Linked DNA regions of Homo sapiens: region 1 is linked to region 2. Evidence: promoter capture Hi-C in human tissues and cell types (Jung and others, 2019). All regions are on one chromosome and are shown on one strand. The core of a region is centred on a gene start or on the middle of the fragment in contact, and the rest is flanking DNA. Distances in the headings are between cores, read along the strand shown. Region 1 holds the start of SLC1A5 (solute carrier family 1 member 5). Region 2 holds the start of PPP1R13L (protein phosphatase 1 regulatory subunit 13 like).

Region 1 (2,700 bases), core at 107-2,606, 1.4 Mb before region 2:
CAGGCTGGAGTGCAGTGGTGAGATCTCGGCTCTTCGCAACCTCTGCCTCCTGGATTCAAGCAATTCTTCTGCCTCAGCCTCCTGAGTAGCTGGGATTACAGGCATGTGCCACCACACCCAGCTAATTTTTGCATTTTCAGCAGAGACAGGGTTTTGCCATGTTGGCCAGGCTCGTCTGGAACTCCTGACCTCAAGTGATCTGCCCGCATCAACTCCCAAAGTGGTGGGATAACAGGCGTGAGCCACTGCGCCCGGCCGTATTATCTCATTTGAACCCTTGCAACACTCAAGGCGGTATGACTTATTATTATTCCCATTTACACATATGAAGACTGAGCCTCATAGAGGTTGTAAATTACCTGAGGCCTCACAGCTGCTGTAGGAGGAAGCTTCTGACATTACCACTACAATCTTTGAGCAAGCATGAAAGCCTGAAATGTCACAGAACAGGCTAGAGATGGGAAAGGAATGAGGATTTCAACACTGTCAGGTGGAGTAAGGAATCATAATTCATTGTTAACCTCCCAAACGGCCACTAACAGAGAATTTGGGGAGGCAGCAGAGTGGGTGCGGTTAGGGGCTTGGGAGGTGGGCATGCACGTGTCATCCTCTCTAGGTGTGGCCTCAAGGTGAATGACTTCCTCTGCCTCTGGGGTTCAAGCGATTCTCCTGCCTCAGGCTTCCAGTAGCTGGGATTACAGGCACGTGCCACCACACCAGGTAATTTTTGTATTTTTAGTAGAGACGGGTTTCACCATGTTGGCCAGGCTGGTCTCGACCTCCTGACCTCAAGTGATCCGCCCGCTTCACCTCCCAAAGTGGTGGGATTACAGGCTTGAGCCACGGCTCCCTAAATAAATACATCAATTTTATTTAAATCTTACAGCAATCATATGAGACAAAAGCTTTTAACACCTGCACTTTATATTCGAGGAATTAAAGTTCTCAGAGGCGACTAAAGACCAAACTCAGGGCTGAGGAGTTCCAAAGCTGAGTTGAGTTGCAAATGAATCACCGAGGACCACCGGAGCTTTCTAGCGACCCTCGCACCAGGGAACGAACCCCTGTGGTTTAAGGGCTCCAACCCACAACCCAGTTCCTTTGGCGGGAAACAGCACCCTCCCAAGGCCCCGCCCCTTCCTGGCCCCGCCCCGTCGTCTCTGGGCCCGGCTCCTGGAGATGGGTATTATTAATCTGCCTTCTATGGGGGACCTGGCCCATCTCGGGTATCAGCCCCGCCCCTACTCGTCCAGTCTCCGAACGCTCTGCAGCCAATCGGCGCCCGAGGGTCGGTCCCCGCCTTCTCAAGCCCCGCCCCCTACCCTTATCCCTGGCAGCTTCCGCTAAACGGGCTCAGAGCCACGCGGCACGCCCGGGAGGCTTTCTCTGGCTGGTAACCGCTACTCCCGGACACCAGACCACCGCCTTCCGTACACAGGGGCCCGCATCCCACCCTCCCGGACCTAAGAGCCTGGGTCCCCTGTTTCCGGAGGTCCGCTTCCCGGCCCCCAGATTCTGGCATCCCAGCCCTCAGTGTCCAAGACCCAGGCAGCCCGGGTCCCCGCCTCCCGGATCCAGGCGTCCGGGATCTGCGCCACCAGAACCTAGCCTCCTGCAGACCTCCGCCATCTGGGGGCACTCAACCTCCTGGAGCCAAGGGCCCCACGTCCCACCCAGAGAAACTCTCGTATTCCCAGCTCCTAGGGCCAAGGAACCCGGGCGCTCCGAACTCCCAGCTTTCGGACATCTGGCACACGGGGCAGAGCAGAGAAGCCTCAGCGCCCAGCCTGGGGAATTTAAACACTCCAGCTTCCAAGAGCCAAGGAACTTCAGTGCTGTGAACTCACAACTCTAAGGAGCCCTCCAAAGTTCCAGTCTCCAGGTGCTGTTACTCAACTCAGTCCTAGGAACGTCGGGTCCTGGGAAGGAGCCCAAGCGCTCCCAGCCAGCTTCCAGGCGCTAAGAAACCCCGGTGCTTCCCATCATGGTGGCCGATCCTCCTCGAGACTCCAAGGGGCTCGCAGCGGCGGAGCCCACCGCCAACGGGGGCCTGGCGCTGGCCTCCATCGAGGACCAAGGCGCGGCAGCAGGCGGCTACTGCGGTTCCCGGGACCAGGTGCGCCGCTGCCTTCGAGCCAACCTGCTTGTGCTGCTGACAGTGGTGGCCGTGGTGGCCGGCGTGGCGCTGGGACTGGGGGTGTCGGGGGCCGGGGGTGCGCTGGCGTTGGGCCCGGAGCGCTTGAGCGCCTTCGTCTTCCCGGGCGAGCTGCTGCTGCGTCTGCTGCGGATGATCATCTTGCCGCTGGTGGTGTGCAGCTTGATCGGCGGCGCCGCCAGCCTGGACCCCGGCGCGCTCGGCCGTCTGGGCGCCTGGGCGCTGCTCTTTTTCCTGGTCACCACGCTGCTGGCGTCGGCGCTCGGAGTGGGCTTGGCGCTGGCTCTGCAGCCGGGCGCCGCCTCCGCCGCCATCAACGCCTCCGTGGGAGCCGCGGGCAGTGCCGAAAATGCCCCCAGCAAGGAGGTGCTCGATTCGTTCCTGGATCTTGCGAGGTCAGCTCCCGCTCCCCCGGGAGGTGGGGAAGAGTGTTACGGATGGCGGGAGTGGTCACGTGGACAGGACGGGGCTTTGGGGCCCCTGGAGCAGAGACTTCCCTCTAGAGTCTTAGGAAAACTCGACAGGATATTGAGGGGAGGCTCCAG
Region 2 (2,700 bases), core at 189-2,688:
CCGAGGAAGAAGTCTTTTTCCGAAAAATGTATTCCCGAAAGCCGCTGATTCGCTGTATTGCTGGAGTCAGAGGCCCGTCGGGTCCCGATGGGTCGCCCCCATCGTCTGTCCAATATGGTTTGTTGCAACGCCTCCTTAAAGGGGCAGCCACACTGCTCTTCCTAAGCCTTAAAGAGACAGGACGGTCGATTGGTCTGAAATTCTTGAAGAGACAGGTAAGAATACTAGTTAGTAGGGCTGTGCTTTCTGTGTTAAATGTCTTCTGGGGAGGCCCAGATGCCTCACAAGTTCAGAACTTGACTGGGAGAAGCGGGAAAATGGAGAAATAGGGGCAATCCGTCCGGAGGGCGTGAAGTTCCAGCCAGGGGCGGGGCTTCTGGACTCCGGGGGAGCGGGAAACATAGGGGGAGGAGCTTGTGGTTCTCGAGGGCGGAGCCTCGGACCCAGGAGCCCCACACGCGTGGAGTGGTGCTGGGCACGGTGTAGCGTTTGTGGATCAAATGGGACTTGTAGATGCCCTCGGGGGTTTAGTCTCATGCGTGGGAAACCTCGATGACTTTCAGGAAGGGACCTGATCGGCGACTCCTCCCTGCCCCAGGGAGCGTGTAAACAGCGGCACGTGGACACAGATTTGGGGGACGCACCCACTTCCCTTCCCACTGGGGCCGCCCCGCGTTGGGCGGCGGTTGGAGCCGCGAGACGGTGGCTAGACAGGGTGACCCGACTGCATTCCTGGCCAGTGTGTCAGCGCCACTTCCCGCCCCCTCTGCCAAGATTTAGGATCCTACTCCAGAATTGGGGCACCCCTTCTCCCCAGGTGGGAGAGGCTTTCCAGAGCGGAGGGAGGGTCAAGGGGAAGGGGAAATGTTTCCCCTATCCAGGATCTCCAGACGGTTTCCTTCGCGTGGGCGAGAGAGACACCGGGGTGCAGCCCCTGCGGGCTCCAGGACTACAATTCCCACAGGACCCGAGGCAAAGAGTCGCCCGAGGGCGGTCGCGGAGGCTGCTGGGGGTTGTAGTCCAAACTAAGATTTTGAACTCTTGCTGGGACATCCTTTGAAGATCCAACCCGCGCTTTTTATCGACGGGGAGATTCGGGCTCAGAGACCCTGGGGGATACTGATCAGGAAAGGGGATAGTGCGCCTGAAGGGGTGGGGCAAGGGCTCAGGAGTCAGTCTCCAGCCACAGCGAGGCAGGCGTCTCGGCTCTTCTGTATCTCCCTGGCCTGGTCGCTCTCGGCTTCTGGGCCTCGCCCTTCCTGTCTGTGAAATGGACTCTGGGTGAATCCAAATGGGATCGTCTTGGGCTACGTCCTGTCCCTCCGGGACTACAAGTCCCAAGGTGCTCGAGGCGACCTTGGCTCCCCCTCCCCACCGGGACCCGCCTCCCTCCAGCCCAAGTCACGTCGTCTAACCTGTTCCCAGCTCCTGCCCCGCCCCGTTCTCCGCTCCCCAAGCCGGAGCCCGAGCTGGAGGAAGCCCCCAGGTGCCAGGATCTGCCCGGATCCGTGAGTTTCACCCTCCTGGGGACCAGAGGCCCTGAAAAAGCCCAACACCCGCGTCCCTGGGAGGATTGGGAGGGGACTCGGACGCCAGGTCCCAGGGCGGAATTTGGGGCGCGCCGACACCTGGATCCTTAGAAGGAAACTCCGTTGCCTGTTTTACTGGAGGGAAGGAAAGCGGGTTCGGATGCCTGAATTCTTGGAATGGAGGGATTCTACCCCTTCATCCCGGGGAGACGTTGGAGCTGGAATTCCTGAGTCCCTCGAACTGGGGGGCTCTAGGAAGCCGAGTCTTTGGGTAGTATAGGGGTTCGAATCCCCGAGTCTTGGTCAGAAATGAGAGGCTCAGACTGGTGGGGCTCAAGGTGGAATGGGTGACCACCCTGCCAGCCTCAAGCTGCTGTCTCGACCGATCTTCTAGGTCTCTGAGCAGAATTAAGGGTGGGGCAGGGATAGTGGAGCCTGGGTTCCTGAAGTGGAGCAGGACAGGTACCCGGGGTCCCTCCGGAGGCTGTGTCCCGGCTCTCCCCCGACTTTTCGGCTCGGGGATGGGGGCGGGGTAGGAGAGAAAACACCGAGGCAGATCTCCAACCTCCTCTGTGCCGCTGAGCGAACCCAACATGTCATTAACCTGGGCGTCAGACCTGCCTAACCAGAGAAGGGACATCCGCCCTAGGGCACCCCCTGGCGGAGGTGGGCTCCCCTATTGCCTTATGGGGTGGGAAACAGCTGGGTTTGCAGAGGTAGTTCTAGAACCCAGGGCAGAATTCCGGAAAGCGGCTATTGGATTCTGGGAGGTTTGCATAGCCGGGCATTTAACCATTACACGGAGAGGAAGGGGTAAACTGAGGCTTGGAGCTCACACAGGCAGTAGAGTTTGTAGGGTCAGGATTCTGCCTCCTCCTTCTTCTGCAGCTCTCTGGGGGACGGGATTCCATCCGCCCCCGCCAGATTTTCTGACTAACCTTCTGCCTCAGGGCTCCTTGCCCTGACCCTGAGGTGAGAAATGTCACCTCCACGCCCATCTGTCTGACCTGGGGTATTGTGGGAGATAAGGGAGGGACAGAGGCTAATTCTGGAGGTGTCTGTCTGTCCTTGAGGCGGGGGGAGGGCAGGACCAGGCACCTCCCTCTGTCTATCTCCCCGTTCTCTCCACCCCCATGCGTCCTAAGAAGGGGGATTAAAAACAGAATGGGGG

Evidence for each region. Contacts are between HindIII fragments. The study calls those that stand out against the background at their distance.
Region 1: a contact is called between the fragment with the promoter of SLC1A5 here and the fragment with the promoter of PPP1R13L in region 2, in 1 of the 25 tissues and cell types used here (stomach).

Annotation. Positions count from the first base shown.
Region 1 is chr19:46,787,250-46,789,949 of GRCh38, reverse strand. It overlaps SLC1A5 (solute carrier family 1 member 5), which reads left to right and starts at 1,356. Exons shown (of 8, transcript NM_005628.3): 1 at 1,356-2,550. The coding sequence starts at 1,985. RefSeq lists silencers at 1,039-1,198, 2,169-2,218, 2,229-2,278 and enhancers at 1,144-1,438, 1,087-1,688. The HindIII fragment of the contact is 6,368 bases long and covers 648-2,700 here.
Region 2 is chr19:45,403,807-45,406,506 of GRCh38, reverse strand. It overlaps PPP1R13L (protein phosphatase 1 regulatory subunit 13 like), which reads left to right and starts at 1,438. Exons shown (of 13, transcript NM_006663.4): 1 at 1,438-1,508. RefSeq lists enhancers at 587-786, 757-1,552. The HindIII fragment of the contact is 18,212 bases long and covers 1-2,700 here.